5 separate regions of the Homo sapiens genome follow, and all the other regions are linked to region 1. The links are contacts of gene promoters, found by promoter capture Hi-C in blood cells and fetal thymus (Javierre and others, 2016). All regions are on one chromosome and are shown on one strand. The core of a region is centred on a gene start or on the middle of the fragment in contact, and the rest is flanking DNA. Distances in the headings are between cores, read along the strand shown. Region 1 holds the start of LINC01386 (long intergenic non-protein coding RNA 1386). Region 2 has its middle 12 kb from the start of TMEM171. Region 3 has its middle 11 kb from the start of TMEM174. Region 4 has its middle 7.7 kb from the start of TMEM174. Region 5 holds the start of LOC340090 (a long non-coding RNA gene).

The links. The method cuts DNA at HindIII sites, captures the fragments that hold promoters and counts their contacts. A CHiCAGO score of 5 or more calls a contact.
Region 2: a contact is called between a fragment that was not itself captured here and the fragment with the promoter of LINC01386 in region 1, in 1 of 17 cell types (M2 macrophages). The highest score is 5.5, in M2 macrophages.
Region 3: a fragment that was not itself captured here is called in contact with the fragment with the promoter of LINC01386 in region 1 in 1 of 17 cell types (M1 macrophages); the score reaches 6.2 in M1 macrophages.
Region 4: a fragment that was not itself captured here is called in contact with the fragment with the promoter of LINC01386 in region 1 in 1 of 17 cell types (M1 macrophages); the score reaches 5.4 in M1 macrophages.
Region 5: a fragment that was not itself captured here is called in contact with the fragment with the promoter of LINC01386 in region 1 in 1 of 17 cell types (M2 macrophages); the score reaches 5.8 in M2 macrophages.

Annotation. Positions count from the first base shown.
Region 1 is chr5:73,470,891-73,476,170 of GRCh38, forward strand. It overlaps LINC01386 (long intergenic non-protein coding RNA 1386), which reads right to left and starts at 2,076. Exons shown (of 5, transcript NR_126410.1): 1 at 1,983-2,076; 2 at 995-1,057. The HindIII fragment of the contact is 6,957 bases long and covers 1,937-5,280 here.
Region 2 is chr5:73,106,291-73,111,570 of GRCh38, forward strand. No RefSeq gene overlaps it. Among named protein-coding and RNA genes, the nearest start is that of TMEM171, 12 kb to the right of the region's middle. The HindIII fragment of the contact is 2,185 bases long and covers 1,390-3,574 here.
Region 3 is chr5:73,159,619-73,164,898 of GRCh38, forward strand. No RefSeq gene overlaps it. Among named protein-coding and RNA genes, the nearest start is that of TMEM174, 11 kb to the right of the region's middle. The HindIII fragment of the contact is 2,982 bases long and covers 879-3,860 here.
Region 4 is chr5:73,178,232-73,183,511 of GRCh38, forward strand. No RefSeq gene overlaps it. Among named protein-coding and RNA genes, the nearest start is that of TMEM174, 7.7 kb to the left of the region's middle. The HindIII fragment of the contact is 2,349 bases long and covers 1,515-3,863 here.
Region 5 is chr5:73,197,735-73,203,014 of GRCh38, forward strand. It overlaps LOC340090 (a long non-coding RNA gene), which reads right to left and starts at 4,227. Exons shown (of 3, transcript NR_134291.1): 1 at 4,084-4,227; 2 at 1,355-1,525. The HindIII fragment of the contact is 5,769 bases long and covers 136-5,280 here.

The sequences.
Region 1 (5,280 bases), core at 826-3,325:
TAAGACTGGGGTGAAGATCTGGATGGAGACCCAAAAAATGGAGCAGAGAGGAAATGAGCCTCTTTGGGATGAAGGTTCCAGGAGTTGCCGACTGTCAGGATTTCCTGCTAATGAATCTCCAAGCTGCCTCTCAGTCACCCAGCCCACCCACTTCCTTTACCATTGCCACTCTTAGTAGCTATTTTTCTTTTATTTTCTTTCCTTTTCTTTTGTTTTCCTTTCTCTTCTTTTTTCTTTTCTCTTCTTTTTGAAAGAGGATCTCACTCTGTCACCCAGGCTGGAGTGTAGTGACATGATCATGGCTCACTGCAGCCTCAACCTCCTTGGGCTCAGGTGATCCTCCCGCCTCAGCCTCCTGAGTTGCTGGGATTACATGTACATGCTACCATGCTCGGCTAATTTTTGTATTTTTTGGTAGAGGTGGGGTGTCGCCATATTGCCCAGGCTGGCCTCCAACTCCTAGGCTCAAGGATCTGCCCATCTCAGCCTATCAAAGTGTTAGTATTACAGGCTTGAGCCACAGCAGCTGGCCCTTAGTAACTTCTGAACAGAATTTCTCTCCTCTTTGGGCCAGTGAAGAAGAGAATTCAGACTCAGCATTCCGCCTCCCCAGACATACCTTTTAAAAACACACACACATCCTTAAGGTTTTTTTTTTAGCTTCTAAGGGTCTGTATTGCCAGTAACAACAGAGAAGGGGGCAGGGACTGAAAAGGCAAAAAGGCTCCACCCAGCACTCCCCTCTTTTGCTATTTCATTTAGATATTACAGAGAAGGAAGGAAGACATTTTCCCCACCCCTGAGTTTTCTTTGGGACTATCTGGGACAGAAGATCTCTCTGCAGCTCTTGTAGACCTGAGCATTTCATTTCTAGAGCTGAGATGTCAGGAGAGGAGTCTGGGATAAATGTGAGGAAATGGGATGAATGTTGCCAAGACTAATATTAGGGGTGGGTGGGGACTGAGAACAGCTGTAAGGCAATGTTCTTCCCTACCTTAGCCTCCAGAGCTCATGCTGGACCAGCTGGAGGATGTGAAAATCCAGAGGAGGTGAGGATCTGGGCCAAAGAAAGGGCAAGAAAGAAGGGAGATCTCAAGTCAAGCAATTGGAAGGAAAGGGAGGTTCCCATAGTGGACTCTGGGGCAGGAGAGATGGAAGGGTTGGGCATTTGGGCTCTCACACGTGTGTGGGGGTGGGGAGTATGGGGGTGCAGTTAAGGGACCTAGGTAACTGAGCAAAATTGGGCCTGTAAGGCCAATTGCAAAGCTCGCTTCTGCATGTAATGTGTGTACCATCTGTCTCTCCATGCCACTAGGAGCACTAATAAATGTTACATGTAGAAACTTTTGCACTAGCTTGTACATTAAAATTCCATATGCCAATTGACTGGACTACATGAGCGCATCTGTCAAAAACAGGTCTCTTAGGCCCAATTTAGGACATTCCAAAGCAGCTTTATAACTGCTTCAGCCTCCAAATGGTATGAATTAACTCTCATAAGCCAAGTCAATTCTCACTGAGTAAAGGATTCGGCCAAATGTCCAAAAAATTCAAGTCAAAAACACTCTCTTCCCTTTATTATAGAGAATATCAGTAGTAAGATCTTTTTTCCCCCAAAATTGTGCTGCTCATTGACTCCGTGTTTGATGTCATACTGTTAACATAAGTTAATATGGTCAAAATGATAAAATGCTTTATTGTATTATGGGCATGAAAAAGACCATATTTTGCATTTTTACAAAATTCTGTTTTTCCAGTTATATTTACAATTTACAGTGTATGCTGATATATATTAAGTGGTTAAATCTCAGGTGCCAAGTGTATTTTATTTTGAAAAAGTAAATATGTATAACTCCCAAGACAACCTGTTTAGACCCATTCTCTCCCGGCAATGGAAGATGCATAAAGAAGAATATAATCCTCCCTTTTAAGGTAAAGCTTAGATTTACACTTCACATGCCCAAACTCAGCACATATGTTACCTCTAGGAACTGGAAATTTTGCTTCTTTTCCTCATACTGATTTTTTTGTTTCTGTTCTTATTAACTTTTATGAAAATATCTTTAGAAAAGCAAGTATAAATACATGAATGAATAAATATATTGGATGATAGAATCAGAATCTTTAAATATCTCAACATGACAGAATAATGGGGAGATTCTAATAATGAAATGTAACAAGTATGAATGCCAGTCACACCTATGTTCCAGGAACAATTCATCATAACAGCAGGATATGTAAGGAAAGGCTTAGGGATTTCAGTTCACTATGCATAGACCTTTTTTTTTTTCTTTTTGAGACAGGGTCTTGCTCTATTACCCAGGCTGGAGTGCAGTGGTGCAATCATGGCTCACTCCCAGCCTTGATCTCTCAAGCTCAAGCACTCTTCCCACCTCAGCCTCCCTAGTAGCTGGGACTACAGCCATGCACCACCAAATCTGGATAATTTTTAAATTTTTTGTAGAGAAGGGGTCTCACTGTGTTGCCCAGGTTGATCATGAACTCCTGGCTTCAAGTGATCCTCTGGCCTCAGCCTCCCAAAGTGCTAGGATTACAGGTGAGAGCCACCACACCTGGCCCACTACTAACAGACTTTAGAGAGCCATTCAGGCTACTCCTCACCCCATGCAATCTTAGACTGTGTTACTAGATAAATGCTGTCTAAAAAAGGGGAAGAGATAACCTTTTTCTCCACTTTGTGTCAGAATACTATATTCAAATCTGGACACCTCATTTCAACAACAGATTGCAGGGATCCAAACAAAGAAACCAGCTTGGTGATCAAAAGAGTGCCTGCCCCTCAAGGACTCCCAACTCAGTGGGGTTGGTATTGACATAGCAGATACACAAAATGTATTCTAGATTGGTACCAAAACTATGGTGAGTAGATGGCTGTGACTGGGGGACTTCTCAATTGATTGCTCAGTCCATTAGAGGTGGCCTTTTTGTGCCTATTGGCTGTTATCGGCTGCCTTGAGTATATTGTCTATATTTGATCCTCAGTATTTTTGTGTGTGACTTGAGCTTTGAGAATTAAATTAAAATGATATATATTTTACTATTTAATCCTACAAAAGTTATTCAACTATCAATAAATATGTCAAGTGCTGAAAAGAAAAAATATCAACAATATCGGAATAAATAATGACTGTCTAGTTATTTTCTCAGCTGGGCCTAGTGGCTCATGCCTGTAATCTCAACACTTTGGGAGGCCAAAGCACAAGGATTGCTTGAGGCCAGGAATTCAAGACCAGCATACGCAACATAGCGAGACCCCCAACTCTACAAAAAATAGAAAAATTGGCCAGGTGTGGTGGTTCAAGCCTGTATTCCTAGCTGCTTGGGAGGCTGAGGCAAGAAGATCACTTGAGCCCAGGAGTTTGAGGCTGTAGTGAGCTATGATTATACCACTACACTCGAGCTACTCTGCCTCTTAAAAAAAAAAAAGTTATTTTTTCATATGAAGCAAAAGTTAAACATTCATGTTTAGAAAATCAGTTATTTTCAACTGTTGCTTTTGCTAGAAAAGTACCAGTTTTGAATTTTTTTTTTTTTTTTTTTTTTTAGATGGAGTCTTTCCCTGTCACCCAGGCTGGAGTGCAGTGGCATGATCTCGGCTCACTGCAACCTCCCCCTCTGAGGTTCAAATGATTCTCCTGCCTCAGCCTCCCGAGTAGCTGGGACTACAGGTGCACGCCACCACACCCAGCTAGTTTTTGTATTTTTAGTAGAGATGGAGTTTCACCATGTTGGGCAGGATGGTCTCACCCTCTGACCTCGTGATCCACCTGCCTGATTTTTTTCTTTCTTTTTCTTTTTTTTTTTTTTTTTTGGGACAGAGTCTTGCTCTGTTGCCAGGCTAGAGTACAGTGGTGAGATCTTGGCTCACGGCAACCTCCAACTCCCAGGTTCAAGAGATTCTCCTGCCTCAGCCTCCCGAGTAGCTGGTACTACAGGTGCGTGCCACCACGCCCAGCTAATTTTTTGTATTTTAGTAGAGATGGGGTTTCACCACGTTGGCCAGGATGGTCTCAATCTCCTGACTTCATGATCCGCCCACCTCAGCCTCCCAAAGTGCTGGGATTACAGGTGTGAGCCACCACACCTGGCCAGCCTTGAGTGATTTTTAAGAAACTAACTACAGGCAGGGCATGGTGGCTCACGCCTGTAATCCCAGCACTTTGGGAGGCCCAGGCAGGTGGATCACCTGAGGCCAGGAGTTCGAGACCAGCCTGACCAACATGGAGAAACCCCATCTCTACTCAAAATATAAAATTAGCTGGGCGTGGTGGTGCATGCTTGTAATCCCAGCTACTCAGGAGGCTGAGGCAGGAGAATCATTTGGACCTGGGAGATGGAGGTTGCAGTGAGCTGAGAGTGGGTAATTGCACTCCAGCCTGGGCAACAAGAGTGAAACTCCATCTCAGAAACAAACAAAAAAAAAGAAACTAACAAACTGAATACATTGTTATTATTATTTACCTATATAAATTGCCAATTTACATATAAAATTTGATGCATTATAATTATGGGAAAATAAATTCTATTAAAAGTTACTCAGCAAAGATAGTTATTAAGATAAATTAAATGATAATAAATTTTATTTTTAATTTAACTAAAATTTTAATTTAAAATTTTATTTCCTCCTTCCTAACCCTGCATCAGATAAAAATAATAAACTTTATACTTACTCTTCTTATGTATGAAGTATAGACATAACATACAGTACATAAACAGATATATACTAGATCTGTGGTATTAAGAAATTTTAAAGGGGGGATGATTAGGTAAAACATGTTTTTATTTATTTTATTTTCATTTAAAAAATTTTTTTTGTCAATATTCAATATAAATATTTTTTAAATTATTGAGATAGGGTCTCACTATGTTCCCCAGGCTGGTCTCCAACTCCTGGGCTTAAGCGAGAGTCCTGCCTCAGCCTCCTAAAGTGCTGGGATTACAGGCACGAGCCACTGCACCTGGCCAACACATTTTTCAAAGCTCCTTAGGGAAATGACATTTTTTTTAAAGTTGAGAAACTCTGAATTAAAACTACCTAGGCATCTTGACAGGAAAGTACTTTGCTGTTGGTTTGCCGCAATGAATCCCAGCCAAAATCTGAAACTAAGAATGGATTTATTCACACTCTTCTTGTCGTCATATCCCATTTCTTGCTATTTTTCCTCCCCCAACTTGTTGTATGTCTTCTGGTAATTGACTCATTATTTTCCTCTTGGGAGCCACCATCCCACTCCTTAGCTCCAGTGATGGTAGGTGACC
Region 2 (5,280 bases), core at 1,232-3,731, 360 kb before region 1:
GAGACTGGGGCCACAACGAGCCATGATCATGCCACTGCACTCCAGCCTGGGTGACAGAGAGTGAGACTGTCTCAAAAAAAAAAAAAAAGAAAAGAAAAAGGAAAACAAAACTGAAAGTTTATGCCCATTAATAAGCCTTCATTCTCCTCTCCCCCAAGCCCATGATAACCACCATTCTACTTTCTGTCTCTGTGAGTTGACTACTGTAAGCACCCCTCATGTAATTGGAATCAAAAAGTATCTGTCTTTTTGTGACTGGCTTATTTTACTTAGCATAGTGTCCTTGAGATTCATCTTTGTAGCATGTGTCAGAATTTCCTTCCTTTTTAAGGCTGAATAATATTCCATTGTGTGTCTATACCATATTTTGCTTATCCATTCATCTGTAAATGGGCACTTGAGTTGCTTCCATCTTTTGTTTATTGTGAATAATGCTGCCATGAACTTTGATGTACAAAGAGCTCTTTGAGACCTCGCTTTCAGTTCTTTTGGGTATATACCCAGAAGTGGAATTGCTGGATCATATAGTAATTTTATTTTTAATTTTTTGAGGAACCACCATGCCACCATAAACTCTTTTCATACCAGTTTACGTTCCCACCAACAGTGCACAAGGGTTCCAATCTCTCTACATCCTCTCTAACACTTATTTTCTGTTTTTTTCTTTTTGATAGCAGTCATGAGGTGGCATCTCATTGTAGTTTGGTTTGCATTTTTCTAATGATCAGTGATATTGAACATCTTTTCATGTGCTTAGTGGGGATATATGTATATCCTGTTTGGATAAATGTCTATAAAATTCCATTGCCCATTTTTTGAATCAGGTTGTTTGGTTTTTTTGTTTTTGAGTTTTAGGTGAGTTCTCTATATATGCTGGATATTAATTCCTTATTAGATATACGGTTTGCGAAGATTTTCTCCCATTCTGTGGGTTGCCTTTTTACTCTGTTGATAGTGTCTTTTGATGCATAAATTTTTCAAACTTTCATGAAATCCAATTTCTCTCTGTTTTTCTTTTTTGCCTGCGCCTTTGATGTCATTTCCAAAAAATCATTGCCAGTTGGGCGTGGTGGCTTATGCCTGTAGTCCCAGCACTTTGGGAGGCTGAGGCGGCAGATCACCTGAGGTCAGGAGTTAAAGACCAGTCTGGCCAACCTGGTGAAACCTCGTATCTATTTAAAATACAAACATTAGCCAGGCGTGGTGGTGCATGCCTGTAATCCCAGCTACTCTGGAGGCTTAGGCGGGAGAATCGTTGGAACCTGGGAGGCAGAGGTTGCAGTGAGCAGAGATTGAGCCACTGCACTCCAACCTGGGTAACAGAGCAAGACTCTGTCTAAAAAAAAAAAAAAAAAAAAAAAAAAATCATTGCCAAATCCAATGTCATGAAGCTTTTGCCTTATGTTTTCCTTCTAGTCTTAGGTGTTACATTTAAGTCTTTGATTAATTTTGAGTGATTTTTCTGTATGGTGTTAGGTAAGGTCCAACTTCATTATTTTGTATATGGATATTCAGTCTTCCCAAACCATTTGTTGAGAAGAATGTTCTTTCCCCATTGAATGGTCATGACACCCTTGTCAAAAATCATTTGGCCATACATGTAAGAGTTTATTTCTGGGATGTCAATTTTATTCAATTGGTCTATATGTATGTTTTTATGCCGGTACCACACTGTTTTGATTACTGCAGCTTTGTAGTAAGTTTTGAAATCAGGAAATGTGAGTCCTTCAGCTTTGGTCTTCTTTTTTAAGATTTTTGGCTATTCAGGATCTCTTGAGATCTCAAATGAATTTTAGCATCAGTTATTCTGTTTCTCTCCAAAATATCACTGGGATTTTGAGAGGAATTGCATCAAATCTGTAGGTCACTTTGGGTAGTATTGACATCTTAACAATATTAAGCCTTCCAACCCATGAACATGGGATGTGTTTCTGTTTAATTATACTTTCTTTAATTTCTTTCAGCAATATCTTGTAGTTTTTATTGTACAAGACTTTCCTTGTCTAAATTAATTTCTAATTATTTTCTTCTTTTTGGTGCTATTATAAATGGAATTGTTTTCATACTTCCCTTTTCAAATTATTCATTTTCAGTGTATAGAAATGCAAATGATTTTTGCATTGTGTTGACTTTGTATCCTACTACTTTGCTGAATTCATTTTATTCTAACAATTTGTGTGTGTGTGTAATATTTAGGATTTTCAGCATACAACACCATATTATCTGCAAACATTGAGAATTTTACTTCTTTCTTTCCAATTTGGATGTCTTCTATTATTATTATTTTTCTTGCCTAAATGCCCTGGCTAGTACTTCCAGGGCTATGTTAAACAGAAGTAGTAAAAGTAGGTATCCTTGCCTCATTCCTGATCTTAGAGGAAAAGTGTTCAGTTTTTCACCATTAAATATCATGTTTGCTGTGGGTTTTCCCACATGGCTTTCACTGTTGGTATAGTTTCCTTCCGTTCCTGGTTTATTGAGTATTTTTAATCATAAAACAGTGTTGAATTTTTGTCAAATGCTTTTTCTGCATCAATTGCGGTAACCACGTGTTTTTTCTCCTTCATTCTGTTAACATGGTGCATTACATTGGTCAATTTTCATATGTTTAACCATTCTTGCATTCCAGAAATAAATTCCACTTCATCATGGCATATGATCCTTTTAATATACTGCTGAATTTGGTTTGCTAATATTTTGTTGAGGATTTTTGCACCAATATCATAAGAAATATTGGTCAACAGTTTTCTTATTTTATTTTTTACTCTGTCCTTCTGGTCTGATAGTTTTCTTTTCTTACAGTGTCTTTGTCTGGCTTCAGTATCAGTGTAACATTAGTTTCATGGAATGAGTCAGGAAGTGTTCCTGCCTCTTCAATTCTTGGAAAAGTTTGAAAAGGATTAGTATTGTTCTTTTTTAAGTGTTTGGTAAAACTCATGGTGAAGCCATCAGGTCCAAGGCTTTTCTTTGATGAGACATTTATGACTACTGATTCAATCTCCTGACTATTTATAGGTGCATTCAAATTTTCTATTTCTTTGTGATTTCACCTTGCTGTAAGTTTTGTGTTCTAGGAACCTGTCAATTTCATTTAGGCTATCCAATTTGTTGATGTACAATTGTTCATAGTACTCTCTCAAAATCCTTTTTATTTATGTAGGATTGGTAGTAATATCCTCACTTTCATTTCTGATTTTAATAATTTGAATCTTCTTTTATTCTTAGTCCCTCTCCCTAAAGGTTTGTAAATTTTGTTGATCTTTTCAGATAACCAACTTTTGTTTCATTAATCTTTTCTATTTTTTGTATTGTCTATTTTGTTTATTTTTGCTCTGATCTTTATTATTTCCTTCTCTTTGCTAGCTTTGTTTAGGTTTTTTTTTTTTAATGTAAACATTTATAGCTATACGTTTCCCTGTGATCAGTGCATTTGCTGAGTGCCGTAAGTTTTGGTATGTTCTGTTTTTATTTTCATTCATCTGTAAGTATTTTCTAATTTTCTTTGTGATTTCTTCTTTGAAACATTGGTTGTTTAGCATCCTAAAGTTATAACATTCTAATTTGAATTTAGACAAGCTTAACCACAATTTTGTGAGTTTTCTAGTTTTACTTCTGATTCTGCTTTCTAATTTTGTCTTGTTGTAGTTACAGAAGATACTTTGTATGATATCTATCTATCTTTTTTTTTTTTTTGACCTTGTCTCTGTTGCCCTGGCTAGAGTGCAGTAGTGTGATCACAACTCACTGCAGCCTCAACCTTTTGGGCTCAAATGATCCTCCCACCACAGCCTCCAAAGTAGCTGGGACCACAGGTATGCACACCATGCCTGGCTAATTTTTTTCTTTTTTTTTGTTTGTAGAAATAAAGTCTTGCTATGTTGCCCAGCCTGGTCTCAAACTCCTGGGCTCAAGTGATCCTCCTGCCTTGGACTTCCAACATGCAGACATCTATTTTTTCAAATATATTGAGACAATTTGTGGCCTATCATATGATCTACCCTGGACCATGCCCCATGTGCACTTGAGAAGAATGTGTATGTTGTCGTTGCTGGGCAGAGTGTTCTGTTTATGTCTGTTAGATCTAGTTGGTTTATTATGTTGGTTTCTTAAGTCCTCTATTTTCTTGTGTATCTTACTTGTCTGGTTGTTCTGTCTGTTATTGAGAGTGGGATATGGATGTTTACAACTGTTATTTTACAACTTTCTATTTCTCCCTTTGATTCTGTCAGTTTTTGCTGAATATATTTTGATGATCTGTCATTAGGTTGTAAATGTTTATAGTTGTTCTAGTTTCTTAATGTGTTGAAACTTTTATTTATATTGCCCTTCTTGTCTCTTGTAACCATTTTTACAATTTAAAATCTATTTTGTCTGATATTAGTATAGTCACCTGTGTTATCTTTTGTTTACTATTTGCATGCAATATCTTTTTCCATCGTTTTACTTTTATTCTATATGTGTCTTTGGAGCTAAAGCAAGTCTCTTGTAGACAGCATGTAGTTGGATCATGGGTTTTGTTGCTGTTATTGTTGTTGTTTTTCAGAAAAAAATATTTCCTGCCAATCATCTCTGTCTTTTCATTGGAGAGTTTCATCCATTTACATTTAAAGTTATTACTAATAAGAAGGGACGTACTTCTGTCATTCTGCCATTTTTTTATATGACTTACAGCTTTTTTTGTCCCTTATTTCCTGCATTGCTCTTTTGTGTTTAATTGATTTTTTTTTTAAAAACATAGTGCTGTTTAAATTCTTTTCTCATTTCCTTTTGTGTATATTCTATACCTATCTCTTTGCAGTTAAATGTAAAGGGGATTACATGTAACATCCTAAAGTTATAACACTAATTTGAATTTAGAAAAGCTTAACCTCAATAACACACAAAGACTCTGCTCCTTTATGGCTTTATCTCCACCCCTTTCAGTTGTTGTTGTCACAGACTGCATATTCACACATTGTGTGACAAAAGCATAAACTAATAAATCTTTTAAATGCATTGATCTCTTCAATTATGTAGTAAATAAAATGTGGATTTACAAACCAAAGTTACAATAATACTAGCTTTTAAACAAATATTTTTTTAATATATTAATCTCTTAAATCATGCAGAATACAAAAAGTGAAGGTACGAACTACCATTACAACAGTTCTAGCTTTTCTCTCTTCTCCTTTTAAGACTCCCACAATGTGTATGGGCTGGAGGTGAAGGATGGGTGATATGGTTACTACTCTGCTAAGAGCTAAAACTGATTGACAGTAACTGCAATTTACTGCCCAACCT
Region 3 (5,280 bases), core at 1,120-3,619, 310 kb before region 1:
GGTCTAGCACCTGGGTTTCTCAGAAGGCTTCCCAGCAGACTATGCATCCTGACCCTGTGTTCCTCTCACATCCACGTGGACCCATGAACCACCTTCCTCTGGAGTCTGATTTTGTCATCCGGACCTTTTCTGATTTTGTTGATCATCTCAGGATTGCCAGGTAGTGGTGGCCACTGACAGGGTCCTACAGTGCAGAGAAGAATGTCCAGGTCCCTTCTTGTGGCTTCTCTCTTTTCTCCCCAACCCCTCTTTCCTGAACCCCCACCTCCTGTGGTGCACCAGCGTAGGGGAGGCCACATGGTGCCATTTTTACCTAAATGTTTAGGAAGACATTCTTTTGAATTTTGGAAATCTTGAAGGGTTTTGAGACATGTATTTGCAAGTAAAACATGCAGGTTCCTGTTTTTCCATGTCACCCAAGCTTGTGGCTTTGTTTTGTTTTATTTTGCTTTTTATGTGCTATAAGTTGTTGAAATATTTTGGGGCTTTTTTGTTATCAGAGAACCTGGTAGTGTTCTGTCTGTAGTCTGATCCAAGTGAATATGGCCAATAGATTACCCTGCAGGATCACAGCACAAGCAGACAGATCTTTGAAACATGGGTTTGCCACTCTACCAAACTTTTGAAAAAAGACATTTAATCACACACACACAGCTTCCACAAAGCAATTTACTTCCAACCACAATGTGTTCAATCAAACGATTTGTTCAGAACTATATGACCACGCTTAGTTTCACTTCCCACCGCAGGTCTCTGATAACCTCTGAAAACTCTGTTTTTGTGGTTATACTGTCATTCATTATTCATCTTTTTAAACTATAATCATTTCAAAATTACAATTTTTAACGGGGAATGTGGATTGGTGGTTAAAAACAGGAAGCTTGATGTCTAAGTCTGAAAAGCAGTGAAAATATGTAAGAAACTCAGAAAAATTCAGAACCTGCCATTATTGTTGATTGTGACAGAGTGTTACCACCTGAGGACTCACTGAAAACTTGCCAGTAAAGAAGGATGAGGTTACTAACCAGCCACAAGTGAATGGGTATATAAACATGGTTGATCTAAAATCTTGGACTATATTTGGATGTTCACATGGACGAAAATTCAAGCAGTATCACAGACTGAACAGTGAAAAGTAAATCTCCCTCTGCAGAAGATTGTATTTTCCAAAGAGAAAGATGGTAATATTTCCTCTCCCAAGTGTTCTTCTGCAATGTGACCTTGACATTCCAACTATAGAAAGGAAGAATCGAATTCCCTTCCCTTTGTATCTGGGTTGGTTTAGTGACTTGCTTGAGCAATAGAATGAAATGAGAGTGATATTCTGGGACTGCCAAAGCCAGGTCATAAGACGCCTCACAGCTTCCACCTGGGACCCCAGGAGTACTTGCTCCTAAGACACTTCCTCTTGAAACCCAGTCCCCTGGCCGGGAGAAACCACATGGAAAGACACAGGTGAGTGCTCTGGTTGATGAGCCAGCGAAGCTCCTAGCATCAGCTGTCAGTCACATGAGTGAACCATCTTGATGTCCCACTCAGGTGAGCTTCTAGGTTCTGGCAGCCCTTGCTGACTGCCTGACAAAACTCAGCCAAGCCACATAACTGTTTTAAGCCACAAAATTGGGAGTGGATTGTTATATAGCAATAGATAACTGGAACACCCTCTCAGTTCTTCTGTCAAATTTATTTCATATTCTTTCAATGACATTTTATGCACAGACATTCAATGATGTGTATGTCTTTCCCCTTGCAAATAATGGCATAATAAGCACACTACAGTACTCACTCTGCTTTCTTTTTCAACCAATAACACATCTTAGAGATTATTCCATACCTGTGTATGTACAGCTGACTTGCTCTTTAACAGTGGAAGAGAACCTTATATTTTACCACCATAAGTTATTTAGCCAGTCCACTACTGATGGACATGTAGGGTTCCCCATCCCTGTACTTTGTTAGTACAGATAGTGATTCATTGTCTATTCTGCTAAAGTATCCTTTTGTAAGGTGTCTATTGTAAGTATGTAGGTTACATTCCTAGAAGATGTTTGTAGCTTCTTTAATTCTGTTGTACGTACATTTTGAATTTTAGTAAATATTGCCAAGCCCCCCAAAAAGAGGTTGTGTCAAGTTATACTCTTCCCCACTCAGATTTAAAGCTGTTTTCCCAGTGACTTGCCAAAACAATGCATTCATAAAGTTTTAAAAATGGTTTACCCTAGATTCTTATTCAAATTATGGATTTTATTGTGGAGAAGAAAATGAGCTTAAACTTTGATATCTATTTGATATCTTTGTATTGCTTGTTTGAGAAACTTCCAGCTATAATTGAATCACTCATTCTTGTCAAAATATTAAAAACTAAAATTGTATGAATTTGGGAAAGATGACATGAGCTACTAGGTAAAAAGGTGAGTTGAAGAAAAATAATTTTTTTTTTTTAGATAGAGTCTTGCTGGGTTGCCCGGGCTGGAGTGCAGTGGTGCAATCTTGGCTCACTGTAGCCTCCACCTCCTGGGTTCAAACAATTCTCCTGCCTCAGACTCCTGAGTATCTGGGATTACAGGCACCCAGCACCACACCTGGCTAATTTTCCTGTATTTTTAGTGGAGACAGGGTTTCACCATTTTGGCCAGGATGGTCTCGAACTCATGACCTCAAGTGATTTGCCTGCCTCGGCCTCCCAAAGTGCTGGGATTACAGATGTGAGCCACTGCACTGGGCCAGAAAAATCAAGTTTAATGAGATTTCATTTTTATGAGATGTGTGAACCTGCAGAAGTAAAAAATATCTGGAAGTAGATATACAAAGTGTTAGTAAGAAGCACAGTCCTTCCTAATTATAAACCACAGTCCATCTAGCAAACGAAACATTGCCTGCAATTTCCTGAAAGGTCACTGTCACAAATGCTTTGGAAGGAGGTGGCACTGCTCTCCAGACATGGCTGAAGAAAAACTTAGGTCAAAACAGGCAGTCTAAACCAAAAAGGGTGCTCTTATTTAAAAAAATCTGAATGTGCTAAAAAGCCATATATAAATAATTAGTGAGAGATTAAAATTTAAATTTGAGTAAATATTGCCAACCTCCCAAAAAATTAATTTTGAACATTTTGATAAAAGCACAGACCGAAGGGATGTAACCATTTTACAGGTCTTTGTTCTATTTATGCAAAATGAATTTAGGTCAATTTGCTTAAAGACTAATTTGCTAAATGACCGATTGATTAACTTAAATTTTTTAAAAAGTATTTAATTTTAGTTGACAAGTTTTCTTTTTTCTTTTTCTTTTTTTTTTTTTTTTTTTGAGATGGAGTCTCGCTTTGCCGCCCAAGCTGGAGTGCAGTGAGGCGAATCCCCTGTCTCAGCCTCCTGAGTAGCTGGGATTACAGGCGCGTGCCACCATGCCTGGCTAATTTTTGTATTTTTAGTAGAGATGGGGTTTCACCATCTGGGCCGGGCTGGTTCTTGAACTCCCAATCTCAGGTGATCCACCCACTTCAGCCTCCCAAACTGCTGGGATTACAGGCGTGAGCCATCACCCCTGGCCTAGTGGACCAGTTTTCATTTGTCATTGTGAACTGCATCTTAAGACATGTCATTTAATCTCTGATTCAGTCAGTTCCTTTTATTTGCTGCAATTGGAGAACAAGGATCAGAGCTGGGGGAGCCCTAAGGGAGACAGCTCCCATTGATAATGCTTGTGAAGACGTGCCCAGAGCTTGATCAGATAAAATAACTGGTACAAATAGTTCAATAAGATGGGGTCCTAAGGTTTCTTCAGTAGCCATTGCATCCATTGAGAACACCACCACAAAGAATTGGCCTCTGGATTTCCTTACTTAAGGGAATTAAGTAGCAGGAAGCTTTGTCAAAAAGGAAATAGCACATTGAATATATGCATTCTCAACAAATTAAAATAATTTCCTTTGTCATGGACCCCAAAGAAAAAAATGATTAATAACTTTGAAAACTTACCAGCCAGATTTTCTGAATTCAGGATTGAATTATTATTTTCTATATTTTTTCTGAGAAGTTGTGAATAATGTAAATTATCATTTTCATTTTTCTTTCTTTCCTTTTTTTTTTTTTGAGACAAAGTCTCACTCTGTTGCCCAAGTTGGAGTGCAGTGGCATGATCTCAGCTCACTGCAACCTCCATCTCCCGGGCTCAAGTGATTCTCCTGCCTCAGCCTCTCGAGTAGCTGGGACTACAGGCACGCACCACCATGCCCGGCTAATTTTTATTTTTATTATTTTTAGTAGAGACAGGGTTTCACTATGTTGGCCGGGTTGGTCTTGAACTCCTGACCTCAAGCCATCTGCCCACCTCGGCCTCCCAAAGTGCTGGGATTATAGGCATGAGCCACCGCACCCAGCCTATTATTTCCATTTTTCAAAGAAGGTATGTTCCACCCAGTACAAAGGGTAAAATTCTGGATAAAGCAAATGAATTAATAGCTCACCTTAATAACAAAGGTTGCTCACAAAGTTGGCTTGGTTAACAAATGTTTTTCAAGTTTCTATGCTAAATATTCTCAAACAACAATTGCAAGGGAAAACCATGTGTTTTTATTACATGTGACACCCTAACAGTAAAAATGAAGTTTGAGAATTAAAGGAAGAGCCTTACTTGACCACTGAGACTATCAGCCATTTGAGACCATTTAATTATACTGTACTGATAAAAAGTTTGGCATTAGTGTTAAAAGAATTTCTCTTATTTTCACCAAAGAAATTCCTGGATGGTATCATCTTTTATCTGATGCTTTTCTCTGGAAGGAGTAGTTATGAATCTCCTCGCTTAAGTTCTAGATTAATTGGACTATGTTTACACATGGGTGGTAGCATTGTGATTGAAAAGGGCACTTGGTTAAATGGAGCTCCTTTCTACTTCCTTCTTTTACGTGGCTGCTGCGTTAAGATGGTAAGATGGCTGAGCCTTTTGGCAGGTAGAAGGAGACCCAATCATCTTTTATGTCATCTCCCATTCTCCTCCACATATCTCTGTCCTCAGAGAGTCTGCATGCCCTGGCCCTCTCTGGTTATCACTTTTCCTATGCTTCTTTGAGGTCATGTTCAAGTTTAGGGGAGGCCTCCAGCCTTGACCATGCGCTCTAGCCAAGCTTACCTGAGTTCTGTGCATGGGGGCATTCTCTACAGCTCAAGCCCTATAGCAGTAAATTTGTTCTGTGCTTCTGTGCCTCTGTCTCCCATGGGGAAGTCATGGGGAGTGGTAGGGTGGGTGGCAGGATTTGGGTATTTCTTGGTCCCTGGCCATACC
Region 4 (5,280 bases), core at 1,439-3,938, 290 kb before region 1:
AGATGGCTTCTTTCCTTAAACCTCATGAAGCAACCTCTGCTAGCTTCCAACTAGCTGTTGATGACTGTTAGATCAGTGGAGTAGATTGCACCGAAGCTGAATACTGCTGGGTGGCCGTTCCCCTAAACAGAAGCTCTTCACAGTAACCAACGGGTAGACACCTTCTTACTTACCTAGAGGAGAGAGGCTCCAGCACACAACACAGAGGCTGATGTGGTCTAGATATCAGTAGTGTCCCCACCCGTCACAACCTGCACTGTTTGGAGTGACTGCAGCTCACACCACTCAGCATTTACTGAAATGTCTCACTCAGAGCCCTTTACGCAACCAATGCTTGGTTTCTGTTGAATAATAAATGTGATATGAATACATGAAAAAATGTTCAAATACATAATGAGTAACCATTCTAGCTTGTTAGCTGTTTTTGTTGTTTTTCACATTGCAAAAAATTTCAAACAAATACAAGCGTACATAAAAGAGTACAGGAAGACCTCATTTTATTGGACTTTGCAGATTTTTTTTTTTTAACAAATGGAAGGTTTGTGGCAATCCCATGTGGAGCAAGTCTCAGTGCCATTTTTCTAACAGCGTGTGCTCACTTTGTGTGTCTACATCACATTTTAGTAATTATTGCAATATTCCAGACTTTTTCATTGTTATTATATCAGTTATGGTGATCTGCAATCAGTGATCTTTAATGTTACTGTTGTAAATGTTTTGGGGCACCATCAACCTTGCTCATATAAGATGATGAACTTACTTGATAAATGTGTGCACTCTGACTGCTCCACCCACTGGCCATTCTCCCGACTCTCTCCCTCTCCTTGGGCCTTCCTATTCCTTGAGACACAACAATATTGAAATTAAGCCAACTAATAACCCTACAATGGCCTCTAAGTGTTCAAGTATAAGGAAGAGTCGCATGTCTCTCACTCAAAATCAAAAGCTCACTTGAAATTAAGCTTAGTGAGGAAGGTGTGTTGAAAGCCCAGACTGGCTGAAAGCTAGGTTTCTTGTACCAAATAATTAGCCAGTTGTGAATGCAAAAGAAATGTTCATGAAGGAAATTAAAAGTGCTACTTCAGTGGATACACGAATAATAAGAAATTGAAACAGCCTTATTAGTGATGTGGAGAAAGTTTGAGTGGTCTGGATAGAAACCAGCTACAACATTCTCTTAAGCCAAAGCCTAATCCAGAGCAAGGCCCAAATTCTCTTCAATTCTATGAAGGCTGAGAGAAGTAAGGAAGCTGCAGAAGAAAAGTTGGAAGCTAGCAGAGGTTGCTTCATGAGGTTTAAGGAAAGAAGCCATCTCCATAACATAAAAGTGCAAAGCGAAGCAGCAAGTGCTGATTTAGAAGCTGCAGTAAGTTATTCAGAAGATCTGGCTAAGATCATTGATGGAGGTGGCTACACTAAACAACAGATTTTCACTGTAGATAAAACAGCCCTCTAGATGGAAGACCATCTAATTCTTTCACAGCTAGAGAGGAGAAGTCAGTGCCTGGCTTCAAAGCTTCAAAGGAAGGGCTGACTTTCTTGACTTAGGGGCTAAAGCAGCTGGTGGCTTGAAGCTGAAGCCAATGCTCATTGACCATTCCAAAATCCCAAGGCCCTTAAGAATAATGCTAAATCTACTCTGCCTGTGCTCTAGAAATGAAACAACAAAGCCTGCATGAGAGCACATCTATTTATAGCATGGTTTCCTGATTATTCTAAGTTCACCGTTGACACCTGCTGCTCAGAAGGATCCCATTAAAAATATTACTGCTCATCGACCCAAGAGTTCTGAGGGAGATGTACAAGCAAATTAATGTTGTTTTCATGCTCACTAAGATAACGTTCACTCTGCAACCCATGGATAAAGGAATGATTTCTATTTTTAAGTCTTATTACTTAGGAAATGGATTTTGTAAGACTATAGCTGCCATAAATAGTGATTGCTCTGATGGATCTGGGAAAAGTAAATTGAAAACCTTCTGGAAAGGATTTATCATTCTAGATACCATTAAGAACATTTGTGATTCGTAGGAGGAAGTAAAAATGGCAACATTAACAGGTGTTTGGAAGAAGTTGATTCCAGTCCTCTTGGATGACTTTGAGAGGCTCAAGACTTCAGTGGAGGAAGTAACTGCAGACATGAAGGGAACAGCAAGAGAACTAGATTTAGAAGTGGAGCCTGAAGATGTGATTGAATTGCTCCAATCTCATGATCAAACTGGAATGAATGAGAAGTTGCTTCTTATGAATGAGTAAACAAAATTGTTCCATGAGATGGAAACTACTCCTGATTAAGATGCTGTGAACATCGTTGTGATAACAACAAAGAATTGAGAATATTTCATAAACTTAGTTGATAAGGCAGCAGCAGGGTTTTAGAGGATTGACTCCAATTTTGAAAGTTGACTTCTGCTGTGGGAAAAATGCTATCAAACATCATCTCATGCTACAGAGAAATCTTTCATGAAAGGAAGAGTTCAACCATGCAGCAAACCTCACTGTTGTCTTACTAAGAAATGACTACAGCCACCTTAACCTTCAGCAAACACCATACTGATTAGTCAGCAGGCATCAACATCCAGGCAAGACCCTCCACCAGCAAAAAGATTATGACTTGCTGAAGGCTCAGATGATCACTAGCATTTTTAAGCAATAAGCAACAAAGTATTTTATAATTAAGGTATGTACATTGTTTTTTAGACATAATGCTACTGCACCCTTAACAGACAAGTATAGTGTAAATATATATATATTTTTAGATGGAGTCTCGCTCTGTTGCCCAGGCTGAAGTGCAGTGGCATAATCTTGGCTCACTGCAACCTCTGCCTCTTGGGTTCAAACCATTCTCATGCTTCAGCCTCCCAAGCAGCTGGGATTATAGGCGCCCACTACCACGCCCAGCTAATTTTTGTAGTTTTAGTAGACACGGGATTTCACCATGTTGGCCAGGCTGGTCTTGAACTCCTGACCTCAAGTGATCTACCCACCTCAGCCTCCCAAAGTGCTGGGATTACAGGCGTGAGCCACCACGCCTGGCCCATAAATATACTTTTATATGCATTGGGAAACAAAAAAATTTGTGTGACTCACTTTATTGCATTATTTGCTTTCTTGCAGTGGTCTGAAACCGAGCCCACAATGTCTCTAAGTATGCCTGTATATGAAACCCCATGTATCTTTCATCCAGCTTCAGTGATTATCTACTCATGGCCAATCTTGTTTAATTTATACCCCCCACTCACAATTCCCCCAGTTGGATTTTTTAAAAGCAAATTCAAGCCATCAAATAATTTCAGTCTAAAATATTTTGTTGTGTATCTTTAAAAGATAAAGACTTGAAAGAATTAGAACACCATTATTATAACTTAAAAATTTACAATTATTTTTGAATGTCATCAAATACCTAATCAGTGTTCAAATTTCCCCAATTTTCCCCCATCTCACTCTCTCTTATTTTTTCTTCTTTGTTTGGTTTGAATCAGAATCCAAATAAGAATTACATTTTGCCAATTGCATCTTAAATTTCTAGCTGTTTCATACTATATTTTGAGAGGCAGATGGTTGGCAAACTATTCATGGTAGCAGATTCATAATTATTAAATTTTACTTTCCAAACAAATATGTTTTACAAGATTTTTCTCCTTCTCTATTAGTTCCCTGAAGCCCTACTACTTCCCTGGAATTAAAAACTTATATTTTTCCCACTTTTAGAATACTATTAGGGATTTTTCTAAAACCAGACTTAGAAAAAAGGAGAGAGAGATCTTCAAATGACTGTTTAGTTGAGAATTATCTGTTGCAGAATAATTTCAAGAGTATCAGGAAACCTTGGCAATCTTCAACATTTTTGGCTTGGTCAGTAAAGCTTTTTAGAAAAAAAATTATTGTTTTCCTTCAGAGATCATAAAAACCCCTTTGAACATCTCAAAAGCACGAACCAGTCTCCTCTTTCAGAAACACAAGAGCAAAGCCTCTTGCTTTACATTAAAATATTACCTGATATAATTTACCTCTCAGATGTTATTGACTGTGGGCCTCTTATCAATGAGCTCTCCATTTTTTGAATTAAAAATGAATATATTTTCTGGACATACCTACAGCTCTTCCTCTGAAAGTGGATATGAATAAGTGTATGTGTGTATATTCACCTACACCCTTATTATGGAATGTGATTTATGAATTTCTTGCCCACTTACTGCTTGTAAATCATCAAGAGTTTTATGTCCCAAGCAGTCAGCAGTGGTTATAAAATCAACAGAGGGATGTACTAAATAAACCTTTACTGGATTGCTCCTAAGGAATTGATGACAAGTCAGAAAGTGCAGACAGCTCCACTGGAATGATTCTCACCTGCCTTTGGGAAAGCACAAAGGTCTCAGATAGGGAAATTTTTTTGTCTTGAGCTTTTAAGATTAATTACCAGATGTTCTGGTAAGGAAATTAGTTTTCTAGGTTCCAGAAGTTTTCTATAACAAAAAAATTTGCCCTCTATCACAAAGCCTACACATGTGTAAATCATAGATGCAAACAAATATGTGCTCTGGAATTTGTGCTTATATACAAGGTATGAGAAGATAGAGATTTTCCTTTTCCAACCCTGCAATTCACTAGTTTAAAAGAACTAATTCAAAAGGGATATAGATACATATACACACATATGTATACATATAATATATATACAACTATATGTGTGTGTGTATATACTCATTTTTTTCAAATATATGAAATATCTCTTGAAGAATACATAAGAACTAGTGATAATTATTTCTGGAGTGGAGGATGGGAGACTCATTTTTCACTTTACTTGATGGCGATTAATGATTTTTTTAAACCATGTTCATATATTAACTGTTGATAAAATTATTTTTGGAATAAAGGAGGAAAAGAAGGAAATGATCTGTCTCTGTGTACTTCTGTTAATCTCATCTTCTTCAGTCCTGGCGTTTTCATTGCATCATCATGCCGCTGCTTACATATGTCATAGGTAAACATGCAAGACACATAGATACAAATGTGACATGTATGCATACATCTACGTGGACACAAATGCATTGTAATATGAATAACACTTTTACATGGACACATATACACAAAGCCTCTTGGGAGGGAGCAGAGGTTCATGTACATGAACGGTATTTCACATATATATACGTTGTTGCTAAAGTCCTCTGCTAGCTAATGGCAGTGTCACAGCAGCACACACAGAATATCAGATCAGATTACCCCACGAGTCTTTCTTTCTTTGATAGATTTCCCAACCCAGCCCTCGCTACCACACCT
Region 5 (5,280 bases), core at 1,770-4,269, 270 kb before region 1:
AACGATGTTTGTAACCAACCCCTTCATCAAAGGAGTATTACAGAGATAGGACAGCACGAGCAAACATGAGGTGGTCATGATGCATGTAGCAGTGTAGTGGGCTTGGCTGTGGTTAACCTTCTCATCAATTGCTCAAGCTTGCTTAGTGAGGATTTCCCCTAAAGGTATAAGGCTCTTGAAACTTCTGCCACATGGGGATGGCGGAGGCATAAATTTTAGCAGGACTATCCACACAATTTGCACATAAGTGCAAAACGAACATGTAGGGTTCCTTGTTCAAAAGTTATTAAGAGTTTCAAGGTGGTGACAGCAGACCAGTAAACCACTGTGGGCTATTTTAAGTGTGGGGCTCTGTATGATGGCACAGGTCTCGTGACCATGTAGTCAACCACATCCTTGAAGGCACAATATAAAATTTAAGAAATGTGACATTCCTTTAGTTCCCCGAAACAAAATTTAGCCTCCAAAAAATCAGAGTACTGCTTTTCCCAATCCGGGGAGCCTGTGAGAATTCTGGGCTTGTGTGAGGCTAGAACATGGGAGGGAAAGGGGCACAGCCTTTGGCCTTGGGGTTGCTGCCTTTACCATTGTGCTTTTGGCGGACCCCAGGCCTCCCTGCCTGTCTGTCAGGCACTGCTAGGAGGCTCAGGGAGGCCCTCACAGCTCTCCTCCCCTCACTGACTCCAGGCTTGGCATCTACTAGCTGCCAAATCTCAACTTCCTCATATTCCCTGGCCCTCTGTTCCCCTCTCTAAGTCTGGGAGAAGTCAGAACCCTCTCTCAGGATCGGGCTACTCCCTCATCTCAAGGCATGTTCCCTCCCGCTCCCTTCCATGATATTTCCACATTAAACCCTCACAGACTTTAGGAAGTCACAGCCTTCAGGAGGACACTGCTGCCCTCTTTCCTGAGGTGGGGGAAAGCAGATGCCCACCTCAGTAGGGCAGATTTTTTTCTATTCTTGCCCCTTTTGGCATCATCAAGGTTGTGGTGGGACCTGGGCCTCATGGCTCCTGAGTCTTCCAATCCCTTTCACCCTTTGCATCCCACAAAGGACTGGGTGGGGAGCCCAGAAGGAGATGGGCAGTGGGAAGGAGGTAAAGAATGCAGAGTAAGACAGAGACCTTGCCGAATTGACTCTCTGGCTCTCATTGCTGTGACCTGAATTTCCTTGTCTGTGCAATGATCAGTAGCAGTTGCCTCCCATGGTGACTGGGATGAGGAAATCAGACTGAGAATGTAGGGGGTTGGCAAACTGCCTATACCAAAAAAGGAAACCTAGGGGACAAAGAGAGGTGAGTATATCAGGGTAGGCCAAGTTTTGCTGCAGTAACAAATAACTCTTCAATCTCACTTTGTTTTCATTCTCTTCAATCTCACTTTGTTTTCATTCATGCAGTCCACTGCGATCCAGGTGACTGTCCAGGCAGCTGTCCTCCAGGTAGTGACTTAGCCTGTGTTCATCCTGTGACTCCACCATCTCCATGCAAGTCCTCCATGTTAGCTGCAGCAGGGGAGGAGGAACCTGGAAAACCACACAGGGGTTTTCACTGTCTCAGTCCAGAAGCAATGTGTGACATTTCCATCCACATTACTGAACAGAACTAGCCACATGACTCTGCCTAGCTACAAGGGATCTGAGAAGTCGATGCTAGTGCACACCCAGGAAGCAGGAAAGATGAGGATATTGCTAAACACTAGTCATGCCTCCTGCAGGGAGGAACCTAAATGAATTGCTCTTGTCAGCCTAGGCTGTCAGGGTTTAAGACACTCTCCCCATGTTCAACTCTGAGAAGTTCTACCTTGACTTCCTTGTTCTGAGCTGGTTTTTCTCACTTCTAAGATGAGGAACTGTTCCTACATTTGATACAGAGTGGATTTTCCTTGAAATGGCCATATATGCAAAGCAACCCCCAAATGCTGAAGGAGCCAAGAAACTCAAGAATGAGGCAGACAACCATAAGACTGAGATAGATCTCCGCACTGCAACTGCCCACAGACCCAGGGCTTTTATCTTGGTGAAAGTATGTGCACTCTGGAAGAATACATAGGTGGCTACAGGCATCACATCCTATGATTTCTGCAACAGCACCAAGGATTGTTTTGGAGGAAACTTGAGAGTGAATAGATGTTCCTACATAAAGAGTAATACAACTTGACATTTTGGAGGCATTCCCGGAGTCGGGGTTAGTCAGGCGGATTAGCATTTAAAATAAAGTAACTCTTGTCCCCACAGTGGACATCCAAGGAAATGTAATGAAAAAATATCATTTGAGTCCTTTCTGAGAAACACAGGGGAGACACACCAGGGAAGTTACATGGGCCTTGAGGCGATTGTCACTTATACACCAGGTGATGGCTTTATTTGCTTTGAAACTCCCACAAACCAGAAAGAAAAATCTGTTGACATTTGGGCCTATGTTGAGATCTAATCAGTTATAATTCCCAGAGCTCAGAGCCCCTGTGCTCCACCAAACGAAGGGCATTTCTTGAGTTCTGGAATGATAGACACAATGCTGGAGTGCTTAAGAGCGAGAACCCGGGAATCAGATGGGCTGGATCTCAAACTTGGTTCTGCTGTCTACTGGCTCAGTGACTTTAGGCATTATACTCTTGCTTCACTTCCCTCATCTCTACATAGTATAATAGTCTATCTTCTTCAAAGTGTTGCTTTGGCATTAAATCTGTTAATGTATATAGTTTAGAACAGGACCTGACAAGCCAGAAACACTCAGTGTTGCTACCACAGTGATTATAGCAGACTCCAGCACATATCCCATTTCTGAGCAAAACTTACAAGAGAAGAGAATTGAAGATGACAGCATCATTTTTTTTTTTTTGAGTTGTTCTGGACGAGACAGGATGGAGTTTGGTTCTTTTTACCAGTCAATACAAAAACATATAATTAAAACACCATACTTGTGAGGACTAAGGAAGTTCCGTGCAAAACGGAGAATGAAATCCAGCAGTGAAGTTTTGTCAATTAAAATAACAGCGTTTTTAAATGAGAATAGAGCTAAATGTACCTTTATATTGCTATTGTTCTTCAAAAGTGGTCATATGTAGCTTTGTCTCAACATGGGAAATCAGACATGCAGCATGTTTTCAATTGTTTTTTTAAAATGGGTTATAGGATCTCACAATAATTTCCGAGTCTGTTTAGTAAGCTCATTTTTATGCAAAGAAATTATATTTGGGGCTGGGCGTGGTGGCTCACGCCTGTAATTCCAGCAATTTGGGAGGCTGAGGCGGGCAGATCACTTGAAGCCAGGAGTTTGAGACCAGCCTGGCCAACATGGTGAAATCCTTTCTCTACTAAAAATACAAAATTAGCTGGGCATGGTGGCGTGAACCTGTAGTCCCAGCTACTCGGGAGGCTGAGGCACAAGAATCTCTTGAATCCAGGAGGCGGAGGTTGCAGTGAGCCGAGATGGTGCCATTGCACTCCAGCTTGGGCAAAAAGAATGAAACTCCGTCTCAAAAATATATATATATATATTATATTTGGAAACAGAAAACCATCTTATTTACCTAAGAAATCATTTCACGATACCAGATCGTGGTGATGTGCATTTCTGAAACTCATAGCAAACTGGACCACTATGGGAAATAGATATCTGATTCCACTCTTCCTTCTAATTCCACATAAACCTCTTTCTATGTTAATTCCTGCTATTCCTGAAAAGTAAAGGTCCATTCCAGCCAGCACATTTCATATTTCTGCCCACACCTAACATTCACATTACAGATTCACTCTTGGCCTTGTCTTCTTATGATTGACTTTCACCTGCATATATCTGCAACTTGCCCTCGAGTTGCTGAAATCCCTTCCCAATTTCAAGAATCTAAGTCTCACATTATGATGCCATGTCCTGGGACAAGAGCAAAAAGATCAGGACCTCCCTAGCTGAAAAAAGCAGGTGCTTCTCAGAACCTGCACCCTCTTCAGAGAGAATACGGTGGCAGGCGCGCAGGGGACCCTGCCCGCAGCACCCATCTTTTAGGGAGCTACTAGGGCGTTCGGCAGGAAGCACAGTTGAGACGACCCACGCAGCGAGGCAGGACTCACGCCGAGTTTGTTACCTTTGCCCATCAGACCTGGTGGATTCTTTTGGTTCTGCAGGTGGAGCCACCAATGCCCAGACACCCTGCTGCAAAGTCAGGGTCCCTCTCGGCCTCGTCTTTCCCTCTCCCGTACCCCTAGGGCTGGATAGTCCTCGTCTGCAGAAGTTCGCCCTTTGCTGGCCCCTGTCCAGGCTCTCCTCTCGCTGGCCCACGTGATCCTTTCCTGCCAGTCTCCCCTGGCTCCAGCTTCCTCCACGCCCAGGGCTCTGCCCTCCGCCGGGCCGACTTCCCGCGAAACTGCAGCGGCTCCCCCTACAGGACAAAGGAGGAAACGCTAGCGGGGCCCCAGAGCCCTCTCCAATGGGACCCAAAGGGACACATCCCGGCACAGACCCTCCCCACTCTAAGGCAGAGCCTTTCGCAGGGCCTATCACAGGGCGGAGGGAGGGAGGGAGGGCGGCAGGAGGACTGCTGGCCTGAAACTCTGCTTTCACAAAGAGGTTACACTTCGAAGTTAGACCTCATCTGCAAATGAGGTTATGGACACGGTCCCATAGAAGCTGACAGAGGTTGCAACTTTATCTCTGGCCCTGTTACTGGACTACATTGCTTGTGGGGAACTGAGTTAATATTTTTTGTAAATTCTGTAATATTTTTTCTGAACAGAACAATTATATAGCATGTTTTGTGTTTCAATAATTTAATTGTTCAACGTAAACATATTTTTTAAAGACTACAGGTGGGCGTGGTGACTCACATCTGTAATCCCAGTACTTTGGGAGGTTGAGGCCAGTGGATCGCTTTTAACCCAGGAGTTTGAGACCATCCTGGCCAACATGATTTCCACTCCGTCTCTACCAAAAATACAAAAATTAGTCAGGGGGCTGAGGCAGAAGAATCACTTGAACCTGGACGGTGGAGGTTGCAGTGAACGGAGATCACACCACTGCACTCCACCTGGGTGACAGAGCAAGACTCAAAAAAAAAAAAAAAAAAAAAGAATAAATTAAAATAAAAAGGCTACAAAACTTTTCACCCCGTTTGAACATTTAAAAAATAGTTTTCTTATTCTGCTCTTTCGTTTCCTTTTTAAAAACTTCCGTATGCAGAATCCCTTAAAACCAAACCAAATGACCAGGCTTTTTTTCCTTGTCTCTGCCCTACTAGTGGTTCTCCTGTCCTCCCCAAAACCGTCCTCTCCTTTGAGATACTGTT